6 separate regions of the Homo sapiens genome follow, and all the other regions are linked to region 2. The links are contacts of gene promoters, found by promoter capture Hi-C in blood cells and fetal thymus (Javierre and others, 2016). All regions are on one chromosome and are shown on one strand. The core of a region is centred on a gene start or on the middle of the fragment in contact, and the rest is flanking DNA. Distances in the headings are between cores, read along the strand shown. Region 1 overlaps XRN1 (5'-3' exoribonuclease 1). Region 2 holds the start of U2SURP (U2 snRNP associated SURP domain containing). Region 3 overlaps SLC9A9 (solute carrier family 9 member A9). Region 4 overlaps ATR (ATR checkpoint kinase). Region 5 overlaps SLC9A9 (solute carrier family 9 member A9). Region 6 overlaps SLC9A9 (solute carrier family 9 member A9).

Region 1 (4,152 bases), core at 578-3,077, 580 kb before region 2:
ATGGGCATAGCTTGAATCCAGAAGGCAAACGTTGCACTGTCGCCACTGCACTCCAGCCTGGGCAACAGAGCAAGACCCCGTCTCAAAAAATAAATAAATAATAAAAAAAAGGCAAAGATTAGTTAGATATCAATAATTGAGGTTCGTTAACTCTGTTCACTTTCTTTCCTTGTGAATCACTGAAAATGACAACCTCAGAGGTTAGCACCTTAGACCAAAATAAATCCTCAATGTTTTTCTGCTTTAGCGTGCATGCAATAATCTACTAAACTAAGTCACATTTTTAGGGTAAGGTGGCACTAAATTAAAGTATCCTCGAGAGATTATTAAATTCTTCTTACCCCCAAGTTCTGGCAGGATGGTAACATATGTTCCATAAAGAAGAGGCAGTGCATCATGATTAATATGTAAATGAGGTAGATGAGGGATAAAATCATTACCAACAAGAAACCCCATCAAAATCCAATCATCTATTATCCTTTCAATATCATATTTAAATGTGATCTTTTCCTACAGTAAAATAGAGAACAAAGTCAAATCCAGTGAAAATTTCTGCAATGGAAATCCTTGGTCCATGGCTTTATTAATACTTACTTTTAATACTGAAAACTCATAGTCAATATACTCTCTCATTAAAGACAAGTGTAGAAGGTGAAATGTAGTTTCTTCTGGAGCACATACCCTGGAATTAGTCAGATGATCAAGATACAGTGAATTTTATTTTTAAGGTCCCAGCTTAAAAATGTAACAAAGCTTAAATCAAAAGTATCATCAGAAGATAGTAAGGTCTTGTAATTAAGGCATACAATTTATATGAAGGTTGCAGGGTAACAAAGATAAAAATACAATTGCAATAATAGATAATACATGTTAAAGTTCAAAACAATTGGTTTACATTATGTGTTCTGTGGAAGGATTCTCAGAATTAAGAAGTCCTAAATAACATATAGTAGAAGTAAGAAACTACTGAGATCTGGCCCATTTAAGGCTGGTCTTTTCAACAAATAATGCAAGGAAGATTGGATATCCACATGCAAAAGAATGAAGTTGGGCCCTTACCTTACACTACACACTAAAATTAACTCAAAATGAATCAAAGATCTAACCATAAAAGTTAAAACTTGAAAACTCCTAAAAAAAGAAGAATAAATGAGTTGGATTATAACAAAATTAAAAACGTTTGTGCATCAAAGGACACTATCAACATAGTGAAAAGGCAACCTACGGAATGAGATAAAGTATTTACAAACATGTATCTGTTAAAGAATTACTATCCAGGCGTAATTTCTTTCTTCCAACATATATGCTATATAATTTACCGTTGTGTTTTTTTGCCACCAAATCGAACTTCTTCTCTTAAGAGAGAAAAATGTGCCTCATGACTTGTTAATCCAAGCATAATCTGTTGAAAAATGATTAAGAAATGTTTTTATTCTCCCATTTTTAATAATATTAGGTTCACAAAAGCAATTAAAAAACAATTCTATACAAGGAAGAATAAGAAACAATTAGCACATTAAATATACAAATAACAAAATATGATCTATTTGTAGGTAATGAATGAGATAAAGTGTACTTTTCTAAGAAAAATATGTTCACCTTAGCTCACATGCTTTTCATAACCATTACCCTATCCCCTGTCCCCTCTCCTCTTCCTATCCCTCCAAATCCCAAACATCTTCTCTTGGTTTTCACATATTTCTACTTGCCGTGGGGGAACTGGTTAGAAATTAGAGGCAGCAGCTTTTCTATGACCAAAGAATGCAGGACTCTTTTGGAGACCAGGATAGCCCCAGTATATGAAAACTCAGGAAAAAAAAAAATGGAAAAGAGCACTTCCAGTTAATTTTCTCACATAGTATCTTTTTTTTTTGAGACAGAGTCTCGCTCTGTTGCCCAGGCTGGAGCAGTGGCGCGATCTTGGCTCACTGCAACCTCCACCTCCCAGGTTCAAGCAATTCTCCCTGCCTCAGCCTCCAGAGTAGCTGGGATTACAGGTATCTGCCTCTATGCCTGGCTAATTTTTGTATTTTTTAGTAGAGATGGGGTTTAGCCATGTTGGCCAGGCTGGTCTTGAACTCCTGACCTTAGATGATCTGGCCGCCTCGGCCTCCCAAAGAGATGGGATTACAGGCATGAGCCACCTTGCCCGGCCTCTCACACAGTATTCTAATACCCCAAGTAAGTCAACAGTCTGTTGACACATATCAATCAAACGCCATGTACTTGCATACTGTTTATTTCAATCTTGATTCAAACAAGAAAACAAAATGAAACATTTATGAGGCAATCAGGGAAATGATAATACTAACTGGTTATTTCTATATTAAGAAAAGGTTAATTTCTGTTTTAGGTGGGATGATGGCATTGTGGTTATATATTTTTTCTTAAAAAAACACCTTAATCCTTTAGAGAAACATTATGAAACATATACAAATTAATGATAAAATGTTTAGGATTTGCTTTAATAATCGGGCGGGGAGTGGGTAGGAGGGAGAGGAGACAGATGATTAGGGGTAGAAATTTAAAATTATTTAAGTTAGATGAAGGGTATACGATGTTCATTATATTACCTTTTCTATTTTTGTTTATGCTTGAAAATTTCCATAATAAAAAGTTAATGCCAAAAAGTCTACTAAAGGTATCTGGAGCATGGAGTTTTCAGATAAGGAGGTATTAAAAGCCAAGTATTAAGCCTGAGGGTAAAAAAGCAGCCCCATTTCTCTGACCTTGGCAAAGTATTCACAGCACTAGGATTAGTCACACCTGTAGACTAATTATAGAGATCTGTTGGTCAATAAACTATGGTTAAAAAGCTCATTTTCCAATGATTTTTAGAAATTTGGTAATGATAGAAGTAGCAATCATTATTGTGTCTCCAATATTTGTTGCCACAGCCAGTAAGCTTCCTGTACAAAATGAAATCTCTTAGATATTTAACTATCAATGCATAAGTTTATAATAATAAAAATTATACCTACCAAGTCAGCATCTAAACCATAAAGACAGTGTCTGGTGTTTGGATCATGATCTGGCTTTGCTTTCTCGGATCTGATAAATTCCATGATTTTATGCTCTCCTTCTCCAGGAGTCTAAATAAAATTGTTTTTAAAAATGCAGTAATATGGTATATGCTTGAGAATATTAAATACTTTTTTTAAACTCTTTAAATAAAAAAAGATAATAACCTCATGGCCTGAGAAGTAGATGGTAACTCCTTGCCATGACTTGTCTGTGGAAATTTTCATATTTACAAAATACTTCAGATGTTCATGTAACCTGGCCATAAATTCAGTTCCTAAAAATAATGTTTTAAAAAGGTTAATCTAAGAAAGACATAAAAACATTAAGTTCTCAGTGACAACACATAACTGAATCTGAGTACGCCGGGAATAGCTAGGTAGGTATAGGATCTCCAAAGAAGGTCAAAAGCTCTCTTGCTTATCCTGAAAAACAAGTAATGTACTTTTCCCTTGCAAATATCACAACTGTTTCTAATGTCACTAGTCCCCCTAAATAGAATCAGTGTCACACAGGGAAAGTCAAGGAATTTTACTAGTGTCTCAGCACTGTGCTTCAGGAATTTTCATGTAAGGGCAGAGTTTGAGATCTCTAATGAACCTCAACCTTCTATTTCTTCTGCTGAATTCTGAAGGTTTTTTTTTTTAAGGCTTGCAGCTTAAATCAGATTGTCAATAATAATAATAATATTACTACTGAAATTATTATTCTGAAAAATTATTATTAATTTGGAACCTGAGTCTACAATGATTACATTTTGGGAAAGGCTCAGATGGTCAACAGTCAAAAGCAATACAGTCTAAAACCACAATCAGGATAAAACCGGTTGTTAAACTGAGCAATGTGTGACCAATGCACTTAAAGAAAGGGCAAATTACCACTGTTAGTAAAGAACTGATGAGAAAGTTAGATTTTAAGATTTTCATTCAAAGTAAAGAATTATATGATGTTAGACAAAGGTTGTAGAAGTATATAGAGTATGCTGCTGCATACAAAATTAAACATAATACTGATAAATTCATTTTCCTTAAAGTCATAAAAATCTTAACTAATTTTGAGAAGCAGAGTAGTAAGTGCCCTGGACTAGGAGAATCAGTTTCTTACTCTGACTACCACAATCTAGCTACATCA
Region 2 (4,075 bases), core at 145-2,644:
CCCCCCTGCCCCGCCCCGTCTCTTTTCCTCACTCCTACTCTCAGAATTAATTACTTCTTTCAGAGGTCCCTCAGCTATTGATCCTTCCTTGCAGCATCAATTTAATTATGCATAGTGTCAGTTTGCGGTTTCCTTGTCTCCTCCATTTCTCATTAAGTTTTAAATCATATGAAGACAGTGCATGTTTGTCTGTCTCTGTAAGCCCTACAACACTTTGGGCAGGCTTTTACACACAAAACGGGGCTCAAAAATATTTTGAATAAATGATTTAGGGAGAGGTCCACAAACGCCCTCCACTCCCACCCTAGTCCTCAGAGCAATACTTTAAAATAAAAATCTGACCATTTCAACCTTGTTAAAGGCCGATCTTCATTCTGAGAACAGAATTCTAACTCCTAAGCACGATGGTGACCTCAGGGCGCTGTGTGAACCTGCACCCGCACCCCTGTCCAACCACGTCCCTCCCCACACCTGGTCTAATAAAACGACTGCTTTAGGTGACCTGCACGATCGGCTGTACTGATTCATGCCACAGGCTTTTACCTCAATTACTCCCTCTGTCTGGAATGTCCTTTCTTTCCTTGCCTGGCCTGATTCGGGCATGGCCTTCTCAAGCAAGCTTTCCGTCTTTGAATCTAGGCCCTGATTAAGAACTTTTTAAAAAAGTACTAAGTTCAGAAAAGTTTAATATGGTGTTCCCCCATTTATGTGATTAAAAATGAAAACAATACTAAAGTGTAAAATGTAATCTTTAAAATGTCACACAACTTTACATGCATGCTAGATTTAGAATACCATCTGTATTTACGATTTTCTCTTATTGACTGTCTCCACGCGCACCCACTCTGCAGACGCCCTAAAGAGTGTCTATCGGATCACCCTCAAGTTGGGTCAAACGGCTCCTCTTCTCGGCTTTTCGGGAGCAACCCTATCTCAACATTCACCATCTTAAGATGAGCAGACTGCAAGTTTGCCTCTCCCACCAGTATGGGAGCTGCCGAAGCGGCAAGAACAGCGTTTCCGTCCATCGAGCGCCAGGTCACCAGTCAGCTCCAGTCCTATTTTGAGTTGAAGTAAAAGCTCCTCCCTAGATGGCCAGTGCACGTCTTTAAAAAGCGACTCCTTTCCCACAAAGGAAATACGACTGGTTCGCATCTATCAAGGGTTGGCGTTGGGATAAGAGGGTGAAGTATCAGCTGGCCCTGATTCTCTGAATTCCCGGACCCAATAACGCGACCAAGCACCGTGACTCCCAGGAAAACTAGCGGAGTGAGCGCGGCTGAGGAAATTACTGACACCGGAAGTCACGTGAGCGGCTGCCCCTAAGGTCGCTATCTCGACAGTCGACTATTCAGCCTTGCAGGCGCCTCTGGCGGGCTTCACTGAGATCCGCTCTTTCGGTGCTCGACTCGCCCGTGCTGCTGCCGCCGCCGAAGGAGGGGCAAAGCTCAAGATGGCGGACAAAACGCCAGGCGGATCTCAGAAGGCCAGTTCAAAGGTAATTTCTGACAAAATTTCGTAAGTCAGCGGATCTACCACTGTCGTTTGGGGCCCACAGACGCTTCTGGCCTGTGAGAGGCGATTGGGATTGGGGTCTGCATTCTAGTCGCGACGGTAGGCCCGGGCGCCGCCGCACCGTTGTGCGCAGGTTGAGAGGCCTGGTATCTCCCCATAGTCCCAGCCGGGATTCAGCTCGAGACTGGCGTGCCCAGTGGGTGGAGGCGTGAGTGCTTCGGCCCGCGCTTGGCATTGGAGTGAAATCAGGAATTCAGATTGAGGTCTGAAGCAGTGAAAACGCTCTCCTGTATCTCAGCTTCCTGCGCCCTGAGGCCGCCAGACAGCGCCTGGGAGAGAGGCGGGAATCGCTTCCCGGTGCTTAAATGTCTGCTGCTTTTTTCTCGGTTTTGGATCTCACTCACTTCCGGCCTCCCTCAGTTTCCCTCCAAGGAATGAATAACCTCTAGGGTCGCCAGCTGTGAGGGGAGGACCACTAGGGCAAAGACACGGAGTGGGAAATGCAGAGGCGGGAGCAGCTCTCCTTTGCAGTGCTGCATAGCCAAGGTTAATGTACAGTCTACACGTGGTCTTTACCTTAACGGGAAGTAAAAAGCACTTTTGAGGGTAGAGGACTCGTGGTCTCTTTCTTTATGTTGAAGAAACAGTGAAAAGAGAAGCTCCGTAGACTTGTAAGCTACATACGATTAGTAAATTGCATTTGTGTTTACAGGGAACCCTGGGCACGTATTGTGAAACCAGTGAGCTGTGGTAGTAGTTAAGCATTAGTACGGTTGGGTTCTTAGTTGCCATCTTGGGCGGGACATTTAATCGTTTTTTGGTTTGGGTTTCTGGTCTCGAATATATTAAAAGTAATTGGTACTGCCACGAGGTAGTTAAACTTTCCGATGCTGATGCAAGAAGCTGTGTAACACTTTCAGGTGCTAGGGACTGTTAAATCTTAAAGAGTGTGTGACTGTAAATCGGCTATTAGAAAGTTAAATTTACGGTAGGAGAGAAGCTTGCGTTTACAGTTCTGAGAAACATCATAACTCGTTTTCTACTTGCTTTCTCTAATCCGACTGTTTATGCCATTTGGTGAACGATGTACACCAAAATAATTAATTCATAATTAGTAATGGTCTTAACAGACATCGTTTAGTTACATAGAAACTTTGGTGAGGGGCCAGTTTCGGCTTCTTTACAAGGTATTGTGTCAGTTTTTTTTCCCCCTCCTCAGTACATTTTCTCGTCTCCCTCTCTTTGGGGGCGAGCTCTACCAACTCTTCTCAACAGACTCCTGACAAGAACATACCGTTAGGGAGCTATTACTAAAGCTAGCTACGTTCATAACAAGTCGTGCATAAGCCTCACAATTTTTGTTTCTTCTCAAAGTAATATTTTAAGTATTCCCTACTTGAGGTCTTGGATACATTGAAAACATTTCAATGTCTGTGTTCAGGCTTCCTTCTAAAATAGTGCTTCTCATGACTGAATGTATGGCTGTTCTCAATAAATAAATTATTGGATTATCCAGTAATCTTTTCTGTTTATATTGCCTTAGATTATAATCTCTTGATGCTATTAGCAGATTTCTTACTGATGTCTGTGAAAGGAATCAGAATATCTTAACTAATTTGGAGGCTGCATAATGTAGTGGGAAGATTATGAATTTTGTTAACAAGAGATTTGGGTTCAAATCCTGACTTGGTAATTAATTATATTTGCGATAATAAGGCAGATTGCTTAAACTCTGGAGCCTCAATTCCCTCATTTGTAATGTAGATATAATTCTTTTTTTACATGGTTGATATAAGGATCAAATGAGATAATGTCTATGAAGTACATAATAAATCTTAATTTCTTTCCCCTCTTTTTGTTTTTAGAGGAAATCAAAAGTTCTTAGCTTTCAAAATGTCAGGATAAATTTTAATCCTGTGATTTGGAATCTAAGTCATCAGCTGTCATAATGACTGCCCAGATAGCTGCTTTTTATTTATTTTATTTCTTTTTTTTTTTTTTTTTTTTTTTTGTGAAAGAGTTTCGCTCTGTCGCCCAGGCTGGAGTGCTGGAGTGCAGTGGCACAATCTCGGCTCATTGCAACCTCCGCCTCCCGGGTTCAAGTGATTCTCCTGCCTCAGCCTCCCTAGTAGCTGGGACTACAGGCGCCCGCCAGTACGCCCGGCTAATTTTTTGTATTTTAGTAGAGACGGGGTTTCACCATGTTGGCCAGGATGGTCTCGATCTCTTGACCTCGTGATCCACCCGCCTCAGCCTCCCAAAGTGATGGGATTACAGGCGTGAGCCACCGTGCCCCGCCCTGCTTCCCTGCTTTTTATTTCTAACACATAATTTATTAGAGAAATTGTAAGATCATTTTGGCTAATACTACAGTATTTAGAATTTCTAGCCTTTGATATCTGGTTTGATTTCCTTTCCTCTGGAAAGAACAGATGAGTGGCTTATATTTTACAATACAGATGGAGTGAACAGATACTTCTGTTTCATGATTCGTCGTTTTCTTTGGTAGTTACATTCCCGTTAATATGGATAGGGATGCTTATTATATTTCTAGACATTG
Region 3 (4,555 bases), core at 834-3,333, 600 kb after region 2:
TGAAAGGTGGAATGTTTGGCTTGTTATCTGGGAGGAAGTAGTATATCTGTCCTTGGCTGCTACTAAATTGTACAGATAATTAAAACATTATTTTTCTATCAGAACAGAATGTATTGCCAAATGGAGATTCCTTTGGGGACAAAATGATGAAAACCTATACCACCAAAGCAGACTGGAGTACATCTAGACAGGATGTCACTAAGAAATGGAACCTGGAAGACTTCTTTTTGAATGCATGATTTCTGTTTCAAAAGACACAAGGATATGGGGCAGTGGTTTCTTGTGACTTAAGCTCATCAGCAGAGGCTCTGAGTGGAGCTAGTGGATTTGGCCCTCTTTGCTGAGCTGTTGGGGAGATCCTCCCACAAAATCATATTTCTTTTGGCTTCAGAGTTCAGCAAAATTGAGTATCTTTTTAAATGAAAAATTAATTATACTAAGATGTATTTCACTTCAGATGGTGATGATCCATTTTCTACCAACAATCCTTATCAAGCATCTGCTGAGGCTACCTTATCCAGGGAAATGCTTTGACTTCTTATGAAGAGAATGGTATCTCCCTTCTTTATTGCTGCATTACTTTCAACATTCTCTTTCCTGAATCAGGATTTAAACCAATACATCCTTCAATCTTGCTTAATTTAGTGAAAACAAGATTGTTAGAGTTGTATTCCTCTTGAGTCTCTCAATTAAGATCAGATACAATGCTATGAAAAAACTGATTAGGGTGATGTAGGTGAAGTATAGAAATGAGGAAGTGAGAGCAAGAGAGAGCACTGGACAGAAACTACAAGACTGGCAGAAGCTTGTACTGACTGAAAAATTAGCCATGATTGGCAGGACAAAGGATATATGGGAATAAACGTGGGCAATAAAACAGCAATGAAGATTTCTCTGGGAAGACTCCTTCAAGTGGTGTTTAATCCCCGATCTGGCACTGTTGGGTGTACAGTTGCTTGGTTAGTTTAAATGAGGAACAGGTTTGGCAGCAGAAAGGAGGGAGATGGGACCTACTCCTTGTTGTACAATAGATTCTAATATGCTGCTTTGTCTTAGTAAAAAAAATTAAAATAATCCCTAGTGGCTGGGCTTTGAGGGGGGAATGTTTTTATGTTTCAGTCATTTTTCTGGACCAGGATGAGATGGAGGGTTTTTGCAATATGTTTCCTATAGCCTAGGGCAAAAACTTTCTCCGTGGGCTTCTCTATGTCGTCTGAGTGATGAGAGGGAAACAAACCAGGGTACGACATAGTTTAGTAAAGCCTGGATCACATGAAAATTTGGTGGTAAATACATACTCTAAAGCTTTAGGGCCCATAGCTAAAGAAAAAAATTTTGGAATAACTTTTTAAAAGAGATTTGAAATTTGTGAGAGATAAAGCAGATAATATAAATCCTAATCTCTTCTCAACGTGTGTGTGTGTATGTGTGCGTGCACAAACACACACACACTCATACACAGAGAGATACACACACCTGGGTCATTTCATCAGGTATCAGAGTTCTTTGGAAGTGAGTGAAGGATTTTGGTTTTGATGGATGTTCTTGCTATACTCAAGGCTTTTTTATCTGTAGCCTTTTTGAAGTTTTATTATTTCCATAAGTTAATATTGATATCATTTTTCGGTTTCCTCATAGATAGATCCTGTCGAATTGTCTGGCTGTTTTTATCAAGGATATGGTCTATGGGATCATTAAAATGATGTGACATCATGCTTACAGAATATTTTAAAAACTCATTAAAAACTCAAAATGCAGGGTTTCTCCCTACAATGTATGAAGTCTTTTTCTTTTTCTTTTTTTTAAAGACAGGATCTTGCTGTGTCACCCAAGCTGGAGTACAGTGGCATGAATATGGCTAACTATAGCCTCGACCTCCTGGGCTCAAGTAATCCTCCTGCCTCATCCTCCCATGTAGTTGGGATCATAGGTGTGCATCACCACACCTAGCTAAGTTTTATTTTTTGTAGAGATTGAGGTCTCACTTTGTTGCCCAGGCTGGTCTTGAACCCCTCGGCTCAAGCAGTCCTCCTGCCTTGGTCTCCCAAAGTGCTGGGATTACAGGTATGAGCCACCACACACCCAGACCTTGTATGAGGTCTTAAACATATGTCACGGTAAATCTTTTTTTTTCTTCTATGTTCCTCTTCACTTACCTTCTTCATGTTCAGTAAAAAGAAAGTGCCAGAACATATAGCATGAGCCATTGTAAGATACATGGATGTGCTTTGGTTAAGGAAAAGGCCGAGGCGGATATCCAGGCGAGTATGAGTCAGCAAGTTTGGTGCGCAGGCACACACCTCCACTTATTATATAGCCTGTTCGTGTAAGTTCATGCTTGGCTTGGAGCCACTATTGTCTGTAAAAGGTATAACTGTCCTGCTGACTCTGTGCACGGGGCTTAGCTCTTGGGGGGCTCGGCTCGGCTCAACACGGCTTGACATGGTGGGCACGCTGGCGTCCAGAGAAAGAGAGAGCCAAAGCTGTCCTTCTTGCAGACAGACAGGAGGGGGCCAAAACACAGCTCAGGCTTGTTTGTGCTCAAAGAGAGAAAGTTAAGCTGTTGACCCTGAAGGCAAGGGAGAACTGGCCTCGCAACCTTGCGTGGGGGTGGCCAATTCAAGCAGCTGAGACAGAGCGGACAGCGTAAGAAAAGCTGCTCAGGAGAGAGGTAGTTTAAGAAAGCTGTTGATGAGAGCTGCTGCTGAATAAAACCATATTCACCCGCCTGTGGCCCCCCGAGGGTTCTTTCTGCTCATCCACCCACTCCCCTCGGACTTCAGCATGGTGTGGACCTGGACCCCAGGATCTGACAGCCATGAAAGATGTTGTTAATCTCAGAATAGAGTTAAGAGGAAATTAAAGCTTACTTTTAAACTATTTTACACTTACTGGCAGGCAGGAGCCAAGTGGTTCCTATAGTCTCAAATGTAGAGATTTATCAAAGCTGTAAGGAAGGTATGGCGCTAAAAGGTGCAGAAAACTGGCTTCAATTAACATTCTAATCATCACTGTCAACGCCATTATGCAACTCTGTGTAGAGTGGCATATTCGGCACTGTGGGGTTAAACATAAGCAGTGGGCGCTGCCTTCCCTAGAATCGCAGTATCGAGAGCTGTTGTCAACAGCTCAATTCGGGGCCTGCAGACAAAAGGTTCTGTACCCACTTACCAATTCCCTGAGCTCTCCAGTCCCTGGTAAATTGCTTTTGAACACATTCTCAACTTTTATCTTTTTTTTTTTAAATGAAAATGTTAGTGGGTAAAATCCAGTATAAGGGACACATTATTCTGAGAGCATAGCTTTCCCTACCGATACCAGCGTCATTTCCACTGCTCTGTAATAAGTAGCTGCAGCTGTTGCCATGGCGATTTTCATTTTTAAAAACTGTATCCATACAAAGACAGGCAACGCAGCTGTTTCCATGAAGCATCACGAAATAAGCCCAGATGTAATGGCACTCCTGTCTTTTTCCAGAATTAAGGAGATGTGTCTAAAAGTCCAGGTAGAGCCAAAGGATGGGGCTGTAGCTGTGCCTTGAGAGGAGCCTCCTGCTTTCACTTGAAGCTCAGGACACTAATGGAGGGTAAATTAGTGGCGCTAGTGAGCGTTCAATTTCTACCCAGTTTTCTCAGGCAGATTCTTTGTACCAGTGAATCACTATTTACACTGTGATTATAACTTCCTCCAATAGCCTCCTTTGAAAAAGACACCGTCTTCCTCCAAATCCGCACATGCTACCCCGGAACATTACAAGAACAAGCACTGCTGATGGGGCTCAGTACTTGTTTTTCTGAAGTCCCGTGGCCTCCTACCTACATGTTATTAAAATGCTGCAAGCAAGCAAGTCAACACAAGTTTTTAAAATCATTCTCCACTTTCCAGTTAGAGGAAGCGTGCTGCCTGCTGCTGCCCTTGTCCTTTAATATGGAGGGAGTTTGGTTTTCTCTGTGTGTGGTCTGGTAGGCACCAATAAGGACAAAAAGATACCTGTCAAGCTCACCATTTCCTGAACAATGGTATTATCTTTCTCAGGGAACAGGAATCTTTTGTTTGTTTCTATTTTTGTTTTGAGGCCATTGATTTGCTAGCCAAGCCAGATGCTGAAAATTATGTAAGTAGAACCCACAGGTCGCCTCAATCCCTCATTCTAAACAAGATTCAAATGAGTTACCCCCTCACTGACCTGGAGAGCTATTTCTTCTGTCACATAGGTGCAGTGCACCAGATGGGACTGTGGCAGAAGAATAGTTAGGTGAAGAAAGCCTACCGTGTGCCTCATGGGGAAAGGATTTTAAAAGAAATTATATTTCCTGTCCATAGTCCTCCATCTCATATAACTATTTAACTCGTAAAAAACATAATTATGTTTCTGAATTTCTTTATATTTTGCCAATCAGTTACAGCTATTTTGTTGTTACTAAGAGCATTGAATTATAAACAGTATAAAACGCCAAATGCTCAGGAATCTAATAATAAAAGGACTTTTCCTGGAAAGCATAAGTAGTTCTTTTCTTCTATAAGGAGAGCCTCTGTTTGCAAAGAAATACGGCTG
Region 4 (4,487 bases), core at 1,988-4,487, 540 kb before region 2:
GAGCCTCTTATTCCAATCTAAAACGTCAGACTTCATTCTAGCCTTCTCTCCTTCCTTTCTCCAATAGTGAGAAAACTGGCTCTCATTATACAACATATTTACTTACTTGCTGAAGACTAGTACTGTATATACATAGTTTCAGAATTGTTAACCAATATCTGTGAAAAACAAATATTCATATATAGTTTTGTAAGCTACCTCAAATCCTGTTGGGATGAAGACAGGGAAGGAATCAAAATGGAAGGAAGGAAGGAAGGAAGAAAGGAAGGAAGGGATGGAAACACTTAAGTGTTTCTGTATATAAAATCTAGAAATTTCACTATAGCTTATATCAAAAAACATATGCTAGCATATATTAATACCAATTATACCCATATTATATAACTTAGTACCCACACTGTATATGTATAAGAATTAATTTTAGTACCCTTTTCTTTATATAGTTTGGTCAGAATAGGTCTCAAACCAGCAGTGTTGTTCACCCATTCAATAATCCCACATTCATCATTTAGTGGAATAACTGCATATGTTCGAATATGAAGTTCTCTTCTACGAGACTCTGCATCTTTTCTTAAGCACTGTTAAAAAATACACATAAATTTAAAAACAAGATAGAACTCAAAATTTCTAAATGTTATATCAAATATATTTAAAGATTGTTCATTTCATAACCAAAGAATGTCATTGAAGGCTTACTATGTGGTATACATGAATAATTCTTCTGAATGGTAGGAAGGAAGCTACTGGGACAGTATCTCTAATCTATTTACAGATTATTAAAAATGTCCTGGGTAGGTCCTTCTTTTTAATTATTCACTATTAATGTGACAAGAATATTGTATTTAAAATATTTAAGTTGTATATTTAACAATGACAAAATGCTGCTGTTTTATTTTCTATTGCTTTATAGGTATTACTGAAACATTAAGTCTTTAGGCACAGAGACTGCTATTTAATTTTTCTTTTTTTTTTTTGAGATGGAGTCTTGCTCTGTCGCCCAAGCTGGAGTGCAGTGGCTCAATCTCGGCTCACTGCAAACTCTGCCTCTCGGGTTCTTGCCATTCTCCTGCCTCAGCCTCCCGAGTAGGTGGGACTATAGGTGCCTGCCACCACGCCCAGCTAATTTTTTGTATTTTTAGTAGAGACAGGGTTTCACCGTGTTAGCCAGGATGGTCTCGATCTCCTGACCTAGTGATCCGCCTGCCTCGGCCTCCCAAAGTGCTGGGATTACAGGCATGAGCCACTGTGCCCGGCCAATTTTAATTATTTCTAAAATACATAAACAAAAGAGCATGAGTTCTATGACATCCTCAAAATGTATTGCTCCTCTTGCGGTTTATCACAACCTTATTTCTAAAGCTATCCCTTAGCAGAAGAAAGCCTTACATATTTCATCTGATTGATCCTGATATATCAGGTGGAAATAAACAGTATTATGTTTAATTCTAGACCTGTATGAAGTAAGCACACATCTGTAATTGTAACCTGCTCAATTCAAAAGCACAATCACTGATCAAAAATACATTTTACTTTAGGAAATAGGTTCCATAACTACCAGGAAAACAATATGGCCATAGAATCTCATATAAAGATCAGTGTGTGGCCTCCAAAACTAACATAGTTTTTTACAAAACTATGTTAGTAAATATGTTACTAACTAAGTTAGTATGTCAGGCTATTTTATTTTACCATGTTTATGAGGGAAAATGTAACAAAATACTTTAATTAAAGTAACAAAGCTGATTAATGTAAATTTATAAACTAAAGCCAGGCCACTTGATACTCAAGTAAATCTGATACTCAGAAAAACTCAGGGAGCTTTGGAGAGAACATACTAATGGTTCAGTAGTTAGTGAATTAAGGTACCATTTTAACAAACAATACTTTTTTGTTGTTGTTGTTGAGACAGAATCTCACTCTGTCACCCAGGCTGGAGTGCAGTGGCACGATCTGGGCTCACTGCAACCTCCGCCTCCCAGGCTCAACCAATTCTCATGCCTCAGCCTCCCAAGTAGCTGGGAATACTGGCGTACACCACCATGCCTGGCTAATTTTTGTATTTTTAGTAGAGAAAGGTTTTTGCCATGTTGGCCAGGCTGGTCTCGAACTACTGGCCTCAAGTGATCTGCCCGCCTCAGCTGGGATTACAGGCATGAGCCACCACACCCAGCCCAAATAATATGTTAAAATAAAAAATAATCCTCCTTTTCATATTGCTTTTGAAATAGCTTTTTAATGTGGTATTAATTTTTAAATTACTTTTGGTTAAACCAAGCAGACTATAACTTTTTTTAAAAAACAAACTCATCTACTGCTATATCTTTTCTATGCTAAAGATCTATGACTTTAAAATGTGGGAAGGCAATGAGAAGAAGGGAAAAAAAGCTTGTAGAAAAATAATAAAGTTTCATCTTTCCACAGTATAGATCAATTTTTACCAATGGAAAAAGACATACACTATGCATCTACAAATACCTGGTTACAGAATAATTCAAAATACATAAAACCATACATTTATAATAACCCTTTAATAAGATTCCTCATATCATCTTTGAGATAGAAATCAAATACCAACAGAACTGAAAAAATGCTAATGATTACCTTTTATTTATCTATTTATTTATTTATAAGAGTCAGGGTCTTGGCTCTGTCATCTGGGCTAGAGTGCAGTGGCATGATCATAGCTCACTGTAGCCTCAAACTCCTGGGCTCAAACAATCCTCCTGCCTCAGCCTCCTTAGTAGCTGGGACTACAGGCATGTGCCACCATGCCTGGCTAATTTTTTTTATTTTTTGTAGAGACAGGGTTTCACTATATAGGCCAGGCTGGTCTCAAACTCTTGGCCTCAAGTGGTCCTCTTTCCTGGGCCTCCCAAAGTGTTAGGCTTACAGGTATGAGCCACTGCACCCAGCCTATTTATCTTTTGATAAATATATTAACACAATAGCCAAAAGGTAGAAGCATCCAAATGTCCATCACTGGATAAATAGATAAATAAAATGTGGATGGAAAACAATAGACTATTATTCAGCTTAAAGAGGGAGAAAATTCTAACACATGCTGTAAAATGAATGAACTTTGAATAATGCCAAGTGATTTAAGCCAGTCATAAAAGGAGAAATACTGCACTTATATGAGGTACCTCAAATGGTTAAATTAATGGAGACAAAGTAAATGGTGGCTGCTGGAGGCTGAGGAGAAGGGAAATAGGAAGTTAATTGTTTCATAGACACAGAGTTCCAATTTGGGAAGATGAAAAAAGTTTTGGAGAGGGATGGTGGTGATGGTTGTACAACAATGTGAATGTACTTAATGCCACTGAACAATATACTTCAAAAACTGTCAAATGTTAAGTTTTATGTATGTACATTTTATCTCAATAAAAAAATTAAGTGAAAATGAAAAAGACTTTATATTTCATTCCTGCTTTTTAAGAGTGATCTGTTTGTATACTAAAATGCCTATATCAGATTGATAGTAATTATAGCAACTCTGAAATAAAAGCAATCTGGTTTTATAATAGTCAAAAATTTTTTTAAAATAAAAAATAAATAAATAAAATAAAAGCAAACTATCTCCCAACCTTATTAATCAAGGAATTGAATTCCATTAGTCTACAATCCTTTCTCAGGTCATCTTTTGGCTTACACATCATGATGTAGAACTTTCCATCTGAGCCTTTTAAAGAAATCTTCTTTGGTTTCTGAAGAGAAGCAAGAATTTCCACCTAAAAGATGATGAGTTATATATGAATTAGGGCCAAAAATTTCTGTGTAAATGTCTATATATTATAAACCTTGAGTTATGTAAAAAAAAAAAAAGAATATTACCAGCTATATTATGTAGTGAATTTGTATTTTAAAAATCTTTTATTTTAATTATCTATGACCTATGAAAAGAATGACTGTCTATGAACAGAAACATTTTCACCCATTAAAAATAGCTATGACATAAAAAGATTACTTCATCGCCAATACAAGTACTTACATATTCAAATTTAGACACCCCCCTTCAAAGCAGTCAAAATGTTTAAAAGATTTTTGAAACATCTTTTCAGGATCTTTCTGCGGAGCCTGAGACTCTGTTTTTCAAGCTTTATCAATTAAAAGTAGTTTGATTTTTGAAAAAACAAACTCCTTCAAAATTAAGTGTACCTAATGAAGTGAGTAAATAAGATGAATAATACTGCTTAAATTAAAAACAAAGCATAGACTGGGTACAGTGGCTCATGTTTGTTACACTAACACTTGGGAAGGCTGAGCAGGAGAATGGCTTGAGCCTAGGAGTTCAAGACTAGCCTGGGCAACATGACGAAACCCCGTATCTACAAAAAATTTAAAAAATTAGCTGGGCATGGTGACATGCACCTGTAGTCCCAGCTACTCAGGAGGCTGAGGTGAGCAAATTGCTTGAGCCTAAGAGGCAGAGGTTGCAGTGAGCTGAGATCGCACCACTGTATTCCACCCAACCCGGGCAACAGAATGAG
Region 5 (4,227 bases), core at 1,585-4,084, 520 kb after region 2:
TACCCTGAAAAAGAGAGAAAGGTTAATAGAAAGAAGAGACAGGGTCTGCTAAGTATCTCATTAGGCCCACTGCCTGCCTCCCATTACATGCACCTCCTGATTCTCATTAGGCCTTCGTGATTTCATTTGGGTCCCAGGTCATTGCTTATTTTCATATGGGGACTATATAACAGGGTCTCTTCCAGTCCCAGAATCCCATGGGGAGAAAAAGAGAAAATGTCAATAATTAATGAGCTGTCAGGGAGAGAGAGCTTTAGCACCTCCAGAATCATATAAAAATTCCTAGTCCATTTGTCTTGGGAGTGACTAACAAAAGGCCAGCATTGAACTTTTTCGAATGAATTATTATTATTGTTATTATTTTTACAAAACAATGCTTAGCTTTGCTTTCAAAGTGTATGATTTTATAAGGCAGGAAGAAATCAACTTGTACATTGAAATGAAAAATCTGTATAGAAATAGCTTTTTGTCTTTTACAATACTCCAAGACCCTGAAGAACTTCATATTTTTGTTAATTTCAGAAAAAATCAATAAGTAAAAACAATTATATAATTAGTTTTATCAAAACTCCAAGCTAATCATAGTAATCACTCCTCCTCATAACTTGTACCTGTTAAGATCTCTTATACTTAGTGTTAAGTCATATAAAGAAAGTGTTGAGGTGGGAAGACACAGCGTGAATCCCAGCTCTTCGGTTGCATGCTGTGTGAACTTGTGAACTTGAAGTCCCAACGTCATTTTATGTAAAATTGGAGAATTTAATACCTACTGTGCAAACTTGTTATATACTTCCCTTTCTGGCAAACATGAAAGGATCGATGAAGGGTAATCATTATCATTATATTTTTCCATAATCCTCTTAATGTCCAGCCCATAGGGATTCCCAATTAATAATTGTTGGAAGACAATAAATCATGACAACATTGTGAATATTCTCTATACCTAAGGTAAGTAAGCAATAAAAATGTAATAAAATACTGATGGTAAATATATTTATTTTTAATTCCGCCATATAAGCTATATAAAACGAAGAAAGATTTGAATATAAATGTCTCTTCCACCTAAGTCAAACAATGATATCTAATGGTACTGTTATTTTCTGACATGCTGAAAGAACAGGATTCTGTGGTCCTTTCTGAATGTAGACTTTAATGCCTTAGCAGGTCAGATAGAAGACTGAGAAAGGAAGACCAGAATGTAGAAGGAAGATCAAGAAAGGGCTGGGTGTTTCAGAGAAACCAAGTGAAGAGAGGGGTTTTGAAGAATGCTCCTATTATCTACAATGAAAAATGCTACACTGAAGATAGAAAAAAAAAAAACTAAGAGAGATCTAACAGCCTGAAGAAACAAATATGGGGGTGGGGGATGGAAAGGATGACCCAACTCACTGAGATCCAAGACCCTGCTGAGATAGAAGAGGAGAGGGATAGAGGCTGAACTGAGATGGGAGATCAAGATTAATAGACTTCTTATCCAACTGATGGCCTCAGTTGTCTCTGTCAAGCTGAGGGCAAGATGGTCAGTGAATATGGCCAGGGAGAGATGAGAATAGAGAATATGCAGAGAGAGAAACAGATCAGCTTTAATAAACAGAGAAGATCGTGCCGTGACTACATTTTCTTTTTTATAGGTCAATGGCCATTTTGAAAATGTTTGACAGTACTAAAATCAGCTTATGCATATTTTTTTGAAATAAGGCCCTATAATTTAATCTACACTAAATCATTCAGACTTTCCAGAGCCCCTATCATTATGACTAATTTGTTTAGTTAGATTTCTTAAGAGTATACATCTCTATCAAGATGAAGCTATGATTTGAATATGGTTTGTCCCCACTAAAACTTATGTTGAGACTTGGTTCCCAGTGAGACAGTGTTGAAAGGTAGTGACTTTACGAAGTGATTAAAATGGATTAATGTCTATTTTTCAAGATTGGGTTAGTTCTCATGAGAATACGTTGTAATAAAGTGAGCCTGCCTCTCCTGTTTTGCTTCTTTGTACATGTCTATTTCTCCTTCTGCTTTTCTGCCATGTTACGATGCCATAGCATGAAGCCCACATCAGAAGCTAGCCAAAGATGACTGCCTGATCTTGGCCCTCCCAGCCTCTAGAATCATGAGCTAAAAAAGTCTTTCCCTTATAAATTATTCAGTCTCAAGTATTCTGTTATTGCAATGAAAAATAGACTAAGACAATGAACAAAACATATTGAATGCTATATAGATGTCAAAAGAAATAGCGAGCCTAGGCAAAATATGGGTTACCTATGTAAAAAATGCTAACCAAAGGAGGATGAAGTTAATTTAAGAACTAGTTCTTATCTTTTTTAGACTTATGTTAAATGTTATTTCTCTTTTTAAAATAAATTATCATTTAAATTAATACAGATCAACTATGAAAAGACCTCATTGTGAACAGTGAGGACAAAGCTTCTGTAAGCATTGATTATATGCCAAATGATATCCCTGTGTGAGGTAGATTCTATCTGATCCATTTTGTAGATGAAGCCTCTGTGGCTTAGGAAAGTTAAGTGACATATTCAAGATCACACAGCAACTAAGTGGCAAGTGTAGACTCTAATCTGGCTCTGTCAGCCTAGTGACTGATACTTTCTCTAGAAAGTGGAGGTAGCATATGAGTCTCATCTTCCCAATCATCCCACAAGCTGCCCTTCGCTCCATGTGTCTCCTGGGGAAGTATTTCATCATTTACTCTGGAAATAGCATTCAAATGTCATCACAACCTTGCAGCATATTTCTGAGTCTGTGAGTACCAAGGAACATGTTGTCCCTTTCAAACATGCCCCTTCACTTAGATAATGTCAGTGAGTTTTTGTGGAATCTGATTTAAATGTATGCGTAAACAGGAAAGAATGAAATAATCAAAATCCACAGGCTGTGAGAGAAGAAAAGTAAATGATATCTAGTTACATTTATTTGACCAATAATGACAAAAGAAAAAAGAGAAATTAAAATTAATGGGGAAATTCTTAGTTATAACTGTCAAGCAGACAGTGCAGGATACAAAATTGTACATATACAGTTTATTCTTGATAAATGAAATAGCTACAAAAGACTGGAAGGAAAAAAATGTCAAAATATTAGCAGTTACAGTGGTTGCCTTTAGGCAACAGAATTGTCCTTGAGTCTTATTACTCTGTTTTACATCTATGAATATACTATGCAGTAAAGTCATTTTTATAAACAGAAAGATATAACTAAATCAAAGCCATCATTGAAAGCTTTTGGCCAGTGGCTGTGATGTCTAGGTCTTTTAAATCCACAGGGGAAGCTAAACCCTCAAACCACAGTCACATCTTCTTGTTTGGGGAAGATAGTGGGCAAAGCAGATGCCTAGAAGCACCAAAAGGAAGTCTGGAGGGTTTGTTTTCTCCTTCCAAAGAAGGGAGCCATCTGCGTCTCTGCACATGGAAGTTTCAATTCATGTGTGTCACAGCCATGAGGACATGAATGGCTGCCCAGGAATGCTTAGGGGCAGGCTGCTCTGTGGGCATTTGGTAACACAAGAAAAGAGGTGGTAATAGCCCAGCAATTCCAGCTATTTTTAATGCAACTCCAAGCTAATATACTTACTTCCTACATTTTAGCATCTATGCCAGGTTTAAAGAAACAGACCTGCCCCTAATTTAAGAGAAGAAAGGCCCCCTCCTGTCCCCCAAATTGTCCCTGCCATCATCCTTCACAGTGCTGCTGCATCCTGCCTCCTCACAGCAGAGCTCACCTCGAGCAACCAATTCCATTTTAAGGAGACAGAGAACAATTTATTCAACTTCAATTTGCTGAGAGGAAAAACCTCCTATTCTCTAATATTAATTCTTGAAGCCGATTCAAAAACAATTTTTGTTCCTTGCCAGGGTTTGAGGCTTTGAAAGATATTAATGTAGACAGTCTTTGAAATATTAGGAGTTTGCAGCCATTGTGAGGATCCTGAAGTTAGCAAGCATAAAAGGAAGTCTTAGGGCAAAGTATATGTTATTCTGTGTGTTGAAATATATATCAAGCTTCTTGTGGGGTAAGGGGCTTGGGCACCCCTGGGGAACTGTGGACTATATATAGATAAGTGTGACATTCGTTTAAAGCCGATCTGCCCTGTGAGAATGATTAGGTTTACTGGAGAGCTCTATTCTTATTTTAAAGTAAGTTTTTTACATCTCTAGTTCTGAAACACCCTCTATGCAGTTTTAGACATATACGACTTGTCTAATC
Region 6 (4,070 bases), core at 389-2,888, 670 kb after region 2:
ATGATATGAACAGACACTTCTCAAAAGAAGACATTTATGCAGCCAAAAGACACATGAAAAAATGTTCATCATCACTGGCCATCAGAGAAATGTAAATCAAAACCACAATGAGAGAACATCTCATGCCAGTTATTATGGCGATCATTAAAAAGTCAGCAAACAACAGATGCCGGAGAGGATGTGGAGAAATAGGAACACTCTTACACTGTTGGTGGGAGTGTAAACTAGTTCAACCATTGTGGAAGACAATGTAGCGATTCCTCAAGGATCTAGAACCAGAAATACCATTTGACCCAGCAATCCCATTACTGGGTATATACCCAAAGGATTATAAATCATGCTGCCATAAAGACACATGCACACGTATGTTTATTGTGGCACTATTCACAATCGCAGACTTGGAACCAACCCAAATGTCCATCAATGATAGACTAGATTAAGGAAATGTGGCACATATACACCATGGAATTCTATGGAGCCATAAAAAAGGATGAGTTCATGTCCTTTGTAGGGACATGGATGAAGCTGGAAACCATCATTCTCAGCAAACTATCACAAGGACAGAAAACCAAACACCGCATGCTCTCACTCGTAGGTGGGAACTAAACAATGAGAACACTTGGACACAGGGTGGGGAACATCACACCCTGGGGCCTGTCGTGGGGTGGGGGGAGGGGGGAGGGATAGCATTAGGAGATATACCTAATGTAAATGACGAGTTAATGGGTGCAGCACACCAACATGGCGCATGTATACATATTTAACAATCCTGCACGTTGTGCACATGTACTGGAACTTAAAGTATAATAACAAAAAAAGTAAAAATAAAAAAAGAAAGTAGCATTTTAAAAAACCACCTCCCAATAAATAGCCTATAAACACTTTCACTTCCTTTTTTGAATAGAACTTTTTGGCTAAAAAGTTGATTATCACTGGTATTAGTTTGTTCATCTGCGCATTTGTCAATGCTTTTGATAGTTTCTGGAAAGCAATAGGCAATTAATTCTGTTTACTGAATAAATGAATTAACAAGTGAATGAATCTCTGAAGGTCACCCACCATGTGGTTAGCTCCTCGAGGATCAGAACAGCTCCTTTTCTCCTGTATTCTGCCCTCGTAATCAGGAACTTCTTTGCCCACTCACTGACCTGACAGAACTTGTTTCAAAAAGCTTTCTCCATTTCAGTGCAAAATAATAAATTGAACAACACAATTCCTTGTCTGTAGCACCCAGACAAAAGGTCAATTCTTGTCCTTTCTTGGCCGCTTTTCAAGAAATCCTGCCCAAGAGGCACCTGTGAGTCTTTATGGAACAAGAGGACCAAATCCCAGTCTGAGACTAGTGGCTGCTCTCCCATCCTAGGTACCTTTCTCTTAAGAAAGCACTCCCTTTTAGGGTTGTACAACTGCTGATCCTGCATTTACATAATCCAGAGAGTGAGTGCCTTCTTAAATTTTACTCCCTAGTTGCCTCACTCTTCCATGGTTTTGACCTCATCAACTTGGCTGAGTCCTAAAAAGAACCAGACAGCAAGGAAATACTCTCTAAGAATTACTGAATCCAATTTGTCTCAATGTACAATGTCTTCTTTAACACATAAATGGAATGTGTGGGCTGGACACTGACTTTCAAAACTTCCATCCTATACGTCTTTGAGCATTACTGAGAATAAACTGCTTTCATTTAAACGGAGACATTCTGTTCCCCAAAGCAGTGAGCCAGAGAGGTCTGTCAACCACAGCTGTTTCCCAGCTGTCCATGGAGCTGTTGAACTGCTTCAAACGGTTTTCAGTATGTTCTCGAAATTTCATCTTCAGAACACCTGGAGCCTTGCTTGATCCACTTTCAACATCCTGAAGCATTTATATAGTTGGTTGTTATCTATTATTGTGTCCAATTCTGTTCTGGAGGTGACTTTCCATAACTAGCTTCCAACTTCTGAAGCAAGACCTTTGTGCCAAGACCTTGCTATTTACAACTCTGTACTAAAGTAGAAAACAGTGGTTGGAAACTTGACTGTGATGTCAAACCAACCTGTGTTCTGATCAGACCCCAGCTGTTATGCAAATGAACTTGGTGATCTTGAGCAGGCTACTTAACCTCATTAAGCTTCAAGTAAGCTTCCTTGGTAAAATGGGGATAAAATAATCCCTTCTTCAGGTTTTTGGAGAATAATTAATTGGAGTTATTTATGCAAAATGTTTGGCATATTGTAAGTGCTTCATCAGTGGTGGTTACTGTATTGTTATTGTTCATGCCATCAAAACTATTAGTGGGTCAGTCCAGTATAAAATGGAATGACAGTTTCTACTTGTTTTCCTTTAACACTTAAAAATAACTTCAAATGAGAAAAAGTAGATATTATCAAGCAGAGAAATGTTAAAAACTCTTCTCTATCTCTCTTCCTTTCTCACAAATTACTCCCTTGAACTTCTGTATTTGGAAAGAACAGTTCCTATTCTGTGTCCATTTACTTTGTCTTTCTGAGTCTTAGGGTCTTCATCTAAAAATGAGGATGTTGAGCAAGATTGTCTTTAAGGGCCTTCCACATCTAAATTTCTATGGGTCTCACTCCAAACTCCAAACTGTAGTCTCCAGATGTGGAATGTGTATATTTTCCAAATCATGCGGATGGAGCCCTGATGCAGTGCTGGGATCAAGGGTGTGCTTTGCAGGGTTACAGAGCAGCATGTGCAATGGGCAGAACAATGTCAAGAAAAGTGATCATGAGTTTAACACTTCTCTGCATGAATGAGGGGAGGGCTGTCATAATTTCAAATGCATATGCCCTTGTTTTGACTGTGACTCTAAGGGTTACCAAGACAGGACACTCCAAAGAGTATCTGAGCCCAGGGAGACCTTGCTAATGTTCTGCAGGTGACGTCGTCTGTGGCCCTGGAGAGAAACATGGCTCATGGTTCTTCCAGCTGAGCTGTTATCTTCTTCATCTGGGCAAAATATTGGCTTGAGGTACAGGAGACCTTAAGCTTTCTCAGAGCCTTCTCCCCACCAGGTGGTACTCTGTGTTTACAAAGCTGCCTGGATTACCTCTGTCTTGTCTTTTAGACTACTGCCAGTTGTCGTATCTACCTCCCTCTTTAGACTGGGAGCATGCTGAGAGCAGAACCTGTGTCTGGTTTATTATCCCTTCCCTCAGTAGCTCCTACAGTGCCTATGACATAGCAGGCAATGAACAAATGTTTGTTAAATAAAATCAATTATAAAGTGGGAACTTGACTCTTGACTCTTGGATTTCATTTTCTTCCAAAGCTTGATTGGCACATCACTGTTCTATTTTGAGAAACAGCAATGGTGTAGGACAAAGAATATTGGACCTGATTTGTCTCCCATCTCTGCCACTTACGAGCCTTGTAAATGTACCACTTAAGTTTTTAGAACCTCTGTTGCTTGGAATGGAGATAATTGATCGGCTGTGGTGATGATCAAATTAGATGATATATTTGTACACATTTAGTTAATGGCTGCTATCACTAGATAACATACTCTCTAGTAGACGTATTCAGATGGAGCTTTTAATTTGCTGCCAATCCGTGGCTTTGGGTTGCTTCTACATATTGATTCAAGTACAGCCATTGCTTCAATAATTTTAAGCTGGCTGCAAGTTAGCAAAAGTCAGTTTTTTTTTCAGATAGATGTTAGTGTTTAGTATCTAGCAAAAACACAGTCTAGAAATCTAAGGAAACAGAATTCCTAGCTTCCATACCTATATTTCATTAACTTGCCGTGAAACCTTGAGATAATCTTAAAATTTGCTGCACCTCAATTATTTCACCTAAGAAATGGGTCTTCTCTACCCAAGAACACAATGTGAAAATAACTGAAATACTGTCTGTAGAAGCTCTTTGAGCTCTTTGAAAGAGTCAAACAATATAAATCAAAGCTGTTATTTTTATTTCTGAGTAAATTTGCTCAAGAATAGAATTGAGGTTTATATGATGGAGTTTTACAGACATAGGTTTATGTAGAGGGTTTTAAACTGATGCTATTCCATTGTGCTTAACACTGAATTGTAAAGACACAGAAAATACAGCCAAGTACTGTTAAATGA

What was found. Contacts are between HindIII fragments. The CHiCAGO score rates a contact against its expected background, and 5 or more counts as called.
Region 1: a contact is called between a fragment that was not itself captured here and the fragment with the promoter of U2SURP in region 2, in 1 of 17 cell types (naive CD8 T cells). The highest score is 5.2, in naive CD8 T cells.
Region 3: a contact is called between a fragment that was not itself captured here and the fragment with the promoter of U2SURP in region 2, in 1 of 17 cell types (naive B cells). The highest score is 6.2, in naive B cells.
Region 4: a contact is called between a fragment that was not itself captured here and the fragment with the promoter of U2SURP in region 2, in 1 of 17 cell types (naive CD8 T cells). The highest score is 5.2, in naive CD8 T cells.
Region 5: a contact is called between a fragment that was not itself captured here and the fragment with the promoter of U2SURP in region 2, in 1 of 17 cell types (total B cells). The highest score is 5.4, in total B cells.
Region 6: a contact is called between a fragment that was not itself captured here and the fragment with the promoter of U2SURP in region 2, in 6 of 17 cell types (total B cells, naive B cells, fetal thymus and 3 more). The highest score is 16.1, in total B cells.

The regions. Positions count from the first base shown.
Region 1 is chr3:142,422,241-142,426,392 of GRCh38, forward strand. XRN1 (5'-3' exoribonuclease 1) reads right to left here. Exons shown (of 41, transcript NM_001282857.2): 4 at 3,189-3,298; 5 at 2,982-3,092; 6 at 1,320-1,402; 7 at 595-682; 8 at 342-510. Among named protein-coding and RNA genes, the nearest start is that of XRN1, 24 kb to the right of the region's middle. The HindIII fragment of the contact is 2,152 bases long and covers 752-2,903 here.
Region 2 is chr3:143,000,176-143,004,250 of GRCh38, forward strand. U2SURP (U2 snRNP associated SURP domain containing) reads left to right here and starts at 1,395. Exons shown (of 28, transcript NM_001080415.2): 1 at 1,395-1,498. The coding sequence starts at 1,454. PAQR9-AS1 (PAQR9 antisense RNA 1) reads left to right here. Exons shown (of 5, transcript NR_125393.1): 5 at 852-915. It overlaps LOC100289361 (a long non-coding RNA gene), which reads right to left and starts at 1,292. Exons shown (of 1, transcript NR_034032.1): 1 at 670-1,292. RefSeq lists enhancers at 833-1,832, 1,107-1,756. The HindIII fragment of the contact is 1,896 bases long and covers 618-2,513 here.
Region 3 is chr3:143,594,876-143,599,430 of GRCh38, forward strand. The region is part of intron 6 of SLC9A9 (solute carrier family 9 member A9); the gene reads right to left. It overlaps LOC124906294 (a long non-coding RNA gene), which reads left to right. Exons shown (of 3, transcript XR_007096123.1): 3 at 103-393. Among named protein-coding and RNA genes, the nearest start is that of SLC9A9, 250 kb to the right of the region's middle. The HindIII fragment of the contact is 1,560 bases long and covers 1,304-2,863 here.
Region 4 is chr3:142,461,513-142,465,999 of GRCh38, forward strand. It overlaps ATR (ATR checkpoint kinase), which reads right to left. Exons shown (of 47, transcript NM_001184.4): 41 at 3,585-3,728; 42 at 428-578. Among named protein-coding and RNA genes, the nearest start is that of XRN1, 16 kb to the left of the region's middle. The HindIII fragment of the contact is 1,709 bases long and covers 2,384-4,092 here.
Region 5 is chr3:143,522,873-143,527,099 of GRCh38, forward strand. All of the region lies in intron 9 of SLC9A9 (solute carrier family 9 member A9), which reads right to left. Among named protein-coding and RNA genes, the nearest start is that of SLC9A9-AS1, 180 kb to the left of the region's middle. The HindIII fragment of the contact is 812 bases long and covers 2,429-3,240 here.
Region 6 is chr3:143,667,671-143,671,740 of GRCh38, forward strand. The region is part of intron 5 of SLC9A9 (solute carrier family 9 member A9); the gene reads right to left. Among named protein-coding and RNA genes, the nearest start is that of SLC9A9, 180 kb to the right of the region's middle. RefSeq lists an enhancer at 1,748-1,797. The HindIII fragment of the contact is 939 bases long and covers 1,170-2,108 here.